2 separate regions of the Homo sapiens genome follow, and region 1 is linked to region 2. Evidence: promoter capture Hi-C in 16 types of primary human blood cells and fetal thymus (Javierre and others, 2016). All regions are on one chromosome and are shown on one strand. The core of a region is centred on a gene start or on the middle of the fragment in contact, and the rest is flanking DNA. Distances in the headings are between cores, read along the strand shown.

Region 1 (4,611 bases), core at 1,668-4,167, 210 kb before region 2:
TTGATAAAGGGGTTCTAACAAGAAAACCATGTTTTACATTTCCAGTTAGGCTTCCAATTTTTCTTTCAAGACTCTCACAGTGCTCCTGCTCAGCTCCAGGCTCATACAGGTCTAGGAACAGGTTGGGCTAAAAACGGATCCATGCTACTCTGAAATAAGGGACAAGGCTCTGAGTGTGGCTTTTCCCCAAGACTTTCAACAGAGTTGGTGAGAAAATCCAACATTAAGCAAACTGTGCTTTGCATCTGCCCGTCAACTTAAATCTGTTGCTTTTATCTTTACAGCTACTATATACAGTGCTTCAGGTACTACTATGTATGACGCATCTTTAATTCAATACAATAATCTTGAGGGGCAGTAACTATCATCATTTTAGTACATTTTAATAAAATGGCGGATTGAAGATATTCAATTCCTTGTGCAATGCTATACCACTTTTAAGTAGTATGCTGGGATTTGAACCCAGGCCTGACTCATTACAAAGTCCCACTCAACTCTATGCAATCATGCTGTTTCTATAATCTTTGGTAACCACATATCTTCTCTAGTTTCTGATCTCAGGACATCCCATTCCTCTCTGTACTTGACCACTCCCTTGTCTAGAGTCACTAGTATCTTTGGGAAAACGATACCGTCACTCTCAGTATTGTTTCCACAGAACTTATATCAGTGAGGCCAGCAACTTCCTCTTAGGGCGAATATTATGTTCATCTTTTCCTCTACTTTCTTAATTACAATGCTTACATTAACTAGAAGAACTATGAATTCTAGGCAATGTTGTATAGGGAAAAAACACCATTCTTTCTGCCAAAGTAAAAAAGCTAGGAAAATGAAACAAAAAAACCAATCTTCTATTTAGAATAAAACAATATAAAATGATGGGTTATAAAACAGCTAAAGCCTAATGTGTGAAATGTGTGAAAATACCTGGTTTTGGTAAGACAGAAATACTTAACTATAGAGAACTAACTCACTGGTGAAAAACTGAAAGAATGGCCTAAGAAAAATAGGAAGTCATGACCAATTATTAAATAATAATATTTGTCTTTACCACCTCCATTACTGCTTTGTATAGCAGCAATAAAACATAGATGTTATCTAAAGGGTTTCTTTCCATTGTACTAATTTTTGAAGGACTATCTCCAGTCTGTTCTTAACTATTTTTGGAAGTTAGGGAAGATTTGTCTACAGACTAGCAAGTAAACTGACAGTATAGATTCAACTACTTACTGGCATAATGGAAAGCCAGGAAATGAGTGTTGAAAAAAGTTCTATACAAAGAAAATTGAAACCAGATCTAAAAAAGTCTAGTCTAAGATAACCCTTTTATGTCTCTTTTTTAATATAAAAGAAAAAAATTGTTTGTGACATATAAGAGAGGATATAGAAAGTCCAAGATTTCCATATATGTACCTTCAGCTATTGAGTCTAAACACTAGCAAACGGAGATTTTCAAAGTAACCCGAATGAAGTCAAGACACTGCATCCATTTTATCCTGGGCTTATTTCTTTATCCTTCAGGAAAAGATGTCTTTTATACCAGAAACTATCAAACAAGCTAACAGATGGCAAGGGCACTGAATCAAGTCTAATTTGGGTTGAATTCAAATTTGATTATCTAGAGACATGAAAGCAATATACCTATATTAGCATCAGATGTGTAATGCTGATAAAAATGTTATGGAAGTATGATACAGCAGAGAACTTTCTGGACTTAAAAGATCCCTTTGGGCTAACTAGTTAGAAAACTCTGGCAAAGTCACAAATTCCTTCTGCCTCAGGATCCTTTACCTGCACAATGGGATGATAATAACTGGTCTTCCTTTCTGTGAGATGCTGAGAGGATACAATGGAATATTTTTAAAATTTTTTCTTCACTGGGTGTGGTAGGCAGAATAATGACCCCACAAAGATGTCCAAATCCCCAGAACTTGTGAAATTGTTACCTTATATGGATTCTCCCTTAGAGCCTTCTGAAGGAATGCAGACCTGCCAAAACCTTGATTCTAGCCCAGTGAAACTTATTTCATATTTCCGGCCTCCTGAATTCCAAGATAATAAATGTATTGTTTTAAACAATTACGTTTATGACAATTTGTTACAGCAGTAATAAGAAACTAACACACTGAGTTTGGTCTCAGCTCTGACACTTTCCCTTTCTATGTATCCCTGGGCCAGTTACTTATGTCTTTGAACTTTAGTTTCCTCATCTATCAAATAAGAATTAACAATAGCAACTACCAGTTGTTACAGAGATCAAATAGGATAACTAAGTGCTATAGCATAAGTGATTAAAAATGGTAACTATCCTTATATTTACTTCTTATGTTACACTAAGGCAATATAATGCAATTATTTTTACACAACCTACATTCAACTTATAGTTTCCATATATACCAGAGATGTATATTAAAGCTTCTATCACTAAAGTTATTGGTAATATATTGATGGACAAGTCATTAGTTTGTTCTTGCAGATCATAAAGTTGAAGTTCTTTTAGATCTCAAAGTTCCCAAAGGGAAGAAGCAATATATATGTAATTCATTTGAAACCCAGCATTTTAAATCCAGTAAAAAGTCCATTTTAAATCCAGTAAAAAGTCAAGACTCTACACTGATTTTGTCCTTAGATTACCTCCATATCCTTCAGGAAAAAGTGTCTTTTAAACCAGAAAACTTTTGATGACCAAAGATAAAATTTAAATAGGAATCTGAAGGAATAGGAAGAGAAATCATTGATTAAGAAAATAAATTCAGGCTGGGCGCAGTGGCTCACGCCTGTAATCCCAACACTTTGGGAGGCAGAGGTGGGCAGATCACCTGAGGTCAGGAGTTTGAGATCAGACTGGCCAACATGGTGAAACCCCATCTCTAGTAAAAATACAAAAATCAGCCAGGTATGGTGACAGGTACCTGTAATCCCAGCTACTCAGGAGGCTGAGGCAGGAGAATGGCTTGAACCTGGGAGGTGGAGGATGCAGTGAACCGAGGCTGCACCAATGCATTCTGGCCTTGTGTGCTCAGGGCGACAGAGCAAGTCTCTGTCTCAAAAAACAAAAACAAAATTCACAAGGAAGTTTAATGATTTGGGTTTTTAGCAATATTCAGCTAGTTTATGTCAGGAATGATTATCTCCAGGGTTTTCTACTTCTAGATCTGTGCTATTTTATTACAGTAGAGATCAGCAAACTATGTCCCATGGGTAAAATCTGGTCTGCCATCTCTTTTTGTAAAGAAAGTTTTATTAAAACAGGCAAACACATCCATTCACATACTGCCTATACCTGCTTTTGTGCTACAAAGGCAAACTGAGTAGTTGCAACAGAGACTATGCCCTGTAAAACCTAAAGTACTTAAAATTGGCCCATATACAAGAAGTATACTGTCCCTAGTGTTACAGCATATTACTTCGCAAGGCATGTAAGCTTATTTTATCTTATAAGGTGTTTCAAAACAATAGATTTTTAAAATGAACTTTCAGCAAACTATTAAGTTTACACAAATAAAGGAATACTGTGGCTTGATGTACCATATAATATTAAACATGGATGAAATTCTGGGTAGTACAGGTTCTACGGCTCCACTAAGATACCATGGAGGTGAGTTCAATTCTGGCTAAATAATGTTGATTTATTAACAGCAAAATCACTCAGCATACAAATGCTGAGCAAAATAAAATAATGACTTATGACTGCTATAATTATTATTCAATAAAAGTGACTGTAGGCCAGGCACGGCAGTTCACGCCTGTAATCCCAGCACTTTGGGAGGCCGAGGTGGGTCGATCATCTGAGGTCAGGAGTTTGAGACCAGCTGGCCAATGTGGTGAAACCCCGTCTCTACTAAAAATACAAACATTAGCCAGGCATGGTGGCAGGCACCTGTAATCTCAGCTACTCAGGAGGCTGAGGCAGGAGAATTATTTGAACCCGGGAGGCACAGGTTGCAGTGAGCCGAGATCACGCCACTGCACTCCAGCCTGGGAGAAAAGAGCGAAACTCCATCTCAAAAAAAAAAAAAAAAAAAAAAAGTGACTGTAAAGATGTTTGATCATAATTTATATTCAAAATTTATCATGATTAAAAATGCAAAATACTGTTTCCTTCTCTGGTGTTTTCATAAAACATTTATTCATTATTATTTACTGAGTTCCTCATCTTATCCTTTTATAAGACTCATACATTATGTTTTCTTTATGATCAAGTATGGGAAAGAACTAATAACTATTGGATATGAAGATGTTCTAGAAACTAAAATATATAATCATTGAATTTTCAAAATAAACTTATAAAGAAAGATTTTTCATTTCCATTTTATAGATGAAGAAACAGACTCAGGGAAAGTGAACATTCCCTCCAAGGTTAAGCTATTAAAGCCATTAGGGTGCCTAAGCTGGGAATTCAGCCCAGGTTTTTTAGTGGCCAAGGTTCTCTTTTTAGTACTTTTCCTAATTCATAATATCTCAGATTCAATGACCTCTTTGGTATATTTGGTATAGAACTGTTGGTCCAGTTAACTACTTGTTCAAGTTATTTGGATTTAAAGCTCCTTTTGAGAAAATAAAAAATTAGCCTTGCTTACTTGGGGAAGTGGAATAGCCCTAACTTTCGGA
Region 2 (5,365 bases), core at 2,626-5,125:
TGGTCTGTCTGGCACAGATGGTTGGCTTCTCTTCAGCTGCTTGCCCAATCTACTCAGCGGATCACAACAGAAATGTAGGAATCATCCAAAATCTTCAATCTTGCTCAATTCTATAATCTAAATAGATTTATCCTGTCCCGTTAATAATACTTCCTAAATCTCTCATAGAGCCACTCCCTCTTCTACACTCTTCATCATTTCTCACCAGGAATAGCTTCCTAACTGGTCCTTGCTTCCAGTTTTGTCCCTCTCTAATTCAATATTCACTTCACTGTCAAAATGACAGGTCTAAAATACAAATCTGATTCTACCACAGCATAATTTTTTTTCCCCACTAAATCCCCGCAACTTTTGGAATTAAGTTAAAGTTATTAACTTGGTTCACAAGACAATCATTGATTTGGCTTATTACTTCATCCACCCCTGTTCTAAAGCTGTGCTGCTGCTGTCCACTCACCTGCAGCTATTGAGTATGTGAATGTAGTTGTCCAAATTGAGATGTGCTATAAGTGTAAATTACACACCAGATTCTGAAAACAGTAGAAAATTATGCACCAGATTCTGAAGACAGTATGAAAATGGAAATGTCATATTTCAATATTACTTTTTATACTGAATGCATGTTGAAATGATATTTTGGATATACTGAGTTTATATTATTAAAATTAATTTCACTTTTTACTTTTTAAAATTTGGTTACTAGAAAATTTTAAATTGTATATGTAACATATTTGTGGCTTGTATTAAATTTTATAGGACAGCACTGGTATAAGATGTACTTTCCCTCTTTCTGGACCTAGTTAACTCTTACCTATTATTGAAGATTAGCTCAGGTAACACTCTAAGATGCATTCTAGACACCCTCCACCCATCCCCCGAAGTCTGAGTCAGCTACCCCTCCTCTGTGCTTCCATCCATAGGAATGTGTGCATGCCCCTGTCATACTATAATTATTGGTTATCACCTATCTTCTCCTCCTCAACTGTAAACTCCTTGCAAAAAGGAATCTCATATTCTATAATACTCAGGTCCTACCTACCACCATGCCTGGCACTTAAAAGGTACTCAAACATTTGTCAAACAAATGTAAACTATCTATTCCTGGCCTGAAGGTTACTAGGATTTCTACTTCACTAAGGAAAACAAACCAGCCTTGAGGGAACCTAGAAAGTACCAGGAGCTTTAGTAATGAAAGGACTAGGAAGGAGAGTGGGGTGGGGGGATGCGGGGCGGGGGGGGAGGGGGGCAAGAGGTAGGAATCACAGTAAAGAGATCAGCAAATGACAGAATAACGCTCATCACACACATCTGCCTCTTACACTGAAAACAGGGATTTGCAACACTGATATGGAGCCTTGTACTCACACTTGGCATGCCAGGGGCCACAGTTTGGTTACTAAATTACTTAAACAACCCATCCAACAAAAGGGTATGATTTGGCAGGTATCAACACAAATGGCTAGGGCCCAGCACCCGTTCCACTTAAACAGCACATCAGTACAGTTAAAAAGAACAACAAATCTCTCTCATGAAGCAAATGCTAATCTCATGATGCTTCACCACGGAACAATTTAGAAGAGTTATTATATGAAATGTGCCAAAGCATGAATTTATAGCTGATGCTTATTTGGCAAATATGGTTGGCACTGCTAGATGTTGAAAAACATGTATGCAAATAAGCAAATAAAAGTTTTTAAGCTCTCAGACTTAAATATTTACATTACCATAAATGTACAAAGATAAATGTTTATATGAGTACACGTATAATGCATTCCAGGAACATATTTTTTAATGTGATTGTCGGCAAACAGTTATGAAGTGGCATTATTTCTTCATGGGCCTTCAGGGTAGACTCTTAAAAATGAATTTTGAATGTTAATAGGCTACAAACATTATTGTGAAAGTTTCTGTATACTATCAACTGGATAAAACGAATAGTTGAGGTATCATAATAGTTCAAAGTGATCTTATCTTTTTCTTTCACCAAAACACTTCTCTTCCAACCCTAGAACACAGCCACACATAAATTTTAGCCTCTAAGTTGGGACAGGAGATGGGGGGTAGTGAGGGAAAAGAAGGAACATACATTAAAAAGCCTTAAAGAAAATAATTTGACATTTTTTCCCACATAATGTAGTCATGTTAGAGAATCCAAAATAAAGACATGATAAAATATTTCCCTTTCCCCCCCGACAGCAATGAAAAGGGGATGTTTGTTTTTTCACATAGTTTGTGAGTTGGTCATATCCAAAATTCACTAGCAATGCTATGACTTCTACTTCCATTGTTCATCTCTGGGCTGAGGCTATAACCCTCAACTTTGAAGCCAAGAAAATGTACCATATCTGCCATTACAGTTTACTAAATAAGTCACCAAAGAGAAGTCCCAGGCAAGTCAGAAAGTAATTAGGGTCGTCAGTGAATTGAGCTATCTAGAAATGCTCTGAGATTACGAGAGAAGCCATCATGAAGTGAGTATCCAAGATTGCTCATGGAAAGTTTTACCCCGGTGGATAATTCACGTTTTTCACTTCCACACTGCAGAGAGCAATATGGGTTCTCTGACTATACACATCACTACATCACTTCATTTATCGGGGGAAAAAAAAAGACGCTGTGGCTGAACAAAAATCAGTAAGTAGGCCCCAAAACAGAATCCTCAAGGCAATCCCAATTCAGGTGAAAAGCTGTTCACGTACATCATCCAATGACCTAAAAATAGTCTTTTATGTAAGTCTCTAAGTATTTAATTCAACGTATGATCTTACCACATTCAACAGAGGCAGAAAAAAAATCAATTAGGTTTTCTATAGCAAGGCCAATAAAGATGAAATCATAGTTTTCCTCTAACTCATCACTACCCCCTCAACGTCAGCCTTCCAATAACTCCATTCCACAGCTCTCAAATTCCTGAACTTGGATCTTTAAAAAACAACGAATCGCAAAAAGTAACATTTAACAGGCCAGAGGCAGGCGGGGGAGGAGGGTCTCTCCCGGTGCTCTCAGCAATCTTTAACGTAGCCAAAGGAGGAAAAAACGAAATCAAGCTCCCAGACGGATGGTGCATGCGACGAGAGGGGAGGGGGCAGACGCGGTTCAGACGGCAAGTCCCCATCGAAGGAGGAAAGAAAAGTTGCAAGAACGGATGGGTCAAAGGGCAGAAAAGAAAAAAACTGAGCAGCCGAACCACTCACAACCCCCAAACGACCCCGCCAGCCCACACGTTCGCGGGCTCCCCAGCCGCGGCGCGAAGGGAGCAGGCAGGGAGCCACCCGGCTCCGTCCCGACGCTGCCGGCGAGGCTGCGCCGATGCTCCCGGGTGCGGGAGCGGGCTGACCGTGTGGACCCGGCAGGAGCCAGAGAAGCCCCTCCTGCCCCGGCCTCCCCGCGTCCAGCTCCTCCAGGCTTCACTTTCCCCCGCAACCTCCCAGCCGCGCCCGGGGGCGTCCCTCGCGGCAGGTCCCAACTTTCCTTCCTCTGGGGGGCGTCGCGCTCCCGGGGCCGCCGCCGAGGGAGGGGGCAGGGGCGGCAGGGGGCGCGCGGCACCGGCGGGGCGCGGGGGTGGCCGGGGAGCTAGAGCCCGCGCCGGGCGGGACGCACCGGCCGCCAGAGCCCCGGCGGCGGCGCCACCCAGAACCCGCGCCGCCACCCAGAACCCGCGCCGCCCCGCCCGGATTCCCCCGGGTCAGCGCCCTCAACCCGCGGCAACCCTGGTCCCACAGACGGCGCGTGAGTAGAAGACAACCGAGCGGACGCGGACAGCCGGGCCGCTGTTACCTGAGGGGCGCACACGCCGCCGCGGCGACCACCATCACCGTCCGTCCCGTCCCCTTCCTGGTGACCACGGCCGCCGCCGCCGAGCAACTGACACTGACTAACAACAACTAACTAACTACTCGCCGCGGCCGAGTCCACCGCGCGCTCCCGGCCGCTCGCCGCCCGCCCAGCCCACCAGCCTGCCCGCCTCCTCTCGGCCCCGCGCGCCGCCCCTCCGCGCGCGCCCTCGCCCGCTCGCCGCGCTCCTGGAGCCGTGAGCACGCGCGCGCTCACGGGCCCCGGTCGTCTCCCAGGTCTCCCTCAGCCCCAGCGGGAGGAGTCACCGCCAGGCCCCTCCTCTCTGCCTTCCAACCTCCAGAGGACGAGACCTAAAGGGTGCCTGATTGGCTGCGGAGGGCGGGGCTAAGACAAGGGGCGGGGCTGCCGAGACCTTGGGCCCGCGTGAGGGAAAATTTGGGTTCGATTAAGCCGCAGAGGAAAAGACCAGGGGAGTCTGGGCCCATTTGGGCGTCGGGGCCCGCTAGGTCAGCCGTCATCGAATACAGAATATGTTTTCGAGGACGCTAATATGTAGTCATGACCAATTTCAGTTCTTCTACTTTCTGCGGGCCTTCGCAATAAAAAAAAAAAAACTACATCTCCCAGAAACCTCCACGAAAATAAGGCTCACCTTGCGTAACCACGTAGTCCTTCGCCGCATTGGGGCAAAATAATCCCTTCATTTTTGTGAAGGTACCGTGGAAAATATTTCATTTTTCTTCTCACCGGAGCAATTGTAAATGCTATGCGGTAAGAGGAGTTACCTGTGGAAAGGTGGTTAAGAGATTAGGTAAAGAAAAGGAAAGGACACCAAAATAAAGTGCTGCGGAAGAATTTTTGTCCAGCTGTGAGACGACGAGTGCGTGAAGTGAAGGCGATTGAGAGGGGCTGAGGGAATTGTCCTCTGTGGAAGGGACTTTCTTTTGGCCCTAGGCCCCTTCCTGCCCCTGTCGTCAGCAGGTCAGTAAGCAAGGCGAGCTTGGGGGTGGCCCCAGTCGAGATGCCCTTCACCCCTTGAAGATCACCCCTCTTTTGGTGGTGGTGGTACTGGTTTGTCTCAGTTGGAGGCCGGCTGAATGGGGGCGCCTCAACTTCCGGTTGGGGGAGGGGAGGAAGGCCGTCCTGGGGAGGGGGGACACCCTCACTTCCTGTGGGGGGGTGGTGATGGTTTGGGGGTGTCCGACCCACTTCCAGTGCTGATGAGGGCTTGAAAAGGTGGTGCTTGGTGCCATTCGCGGAGACATTATCTTGCAGCTTGGGGATTGTGTTTTATGTGAAAAGTTAGATTATTCCAAGTTGTGCTGAACACCAACCTGCAGTCAGAATTTATGAGTTTGCTTCCACGTGGAATATGGAGCATTTCCTCCCCAGCAAAATTGTCTGTGTTTTCTTCAAAGAATTCGAAAGCCCTTGTTAAAAATCTCTATGCACCTTTGCAAGACGACATAGCTTGTGTGACTGATGAATTGCCAACACCTGCACCCCTACTCAAGTCCAGCCTTGGCTGGGTGAAGTGTGGTGCCCTCTGCCTTGACATGCAACAGGAAAT

Evidence for each region. The method cuts DNA at HindIII sites, captures the fragments that hold promoters and counts their contacts. A CHiCAGO score of 5 or more calls a contact.
Region 1: a contact is called between a fragment that was not itself captured here and the fragment with the promoter of PEAK1 in region 2, in 1 of 17 cell types (naive B cells). The highest score is 5.1, in naive B cells.

The regions. Positions count from the first base shown.
Region 1 is chr15:77,207,843-77,212,453 of GRCh38, forward strand. All of the region lies in intron 6 of PEAK1 (pseudopodium enriched atypical kinase 1), which reads right to left. Among named protein-coding and RNA genes, the nearest start is that of LINC00597, 15 kb to the right of the region's middle. The HindIII fragment of the contact is 1,009 bases long and covers 2,414-3,422 here.
Region 2 is chr15:77,416,229-77,421,593 of GRCh38, forward strand. It overlaps PEAK1 (pseudopodium enriched atypical kinase 1), which reads right to left and starts at 3,876. Exons shown (of 10, transcript NM_001385026.1): 1 at 3,778-3,876. HMG20A (high mobility group 20A) reads left to right here and starts at 4,660. Exons shown (of 10, transcript NM_001304504.2): 1 at 4,660-4,776. RefSeq lists enhancers at 1-106, 4,672-4,721, 5,112-5,161 and silencers at 3,262-3,471, 3,482-3,651, 3,902-4,221. The HindIII fragment of the contact is 8,449 bases long and covers 1-5,365 here.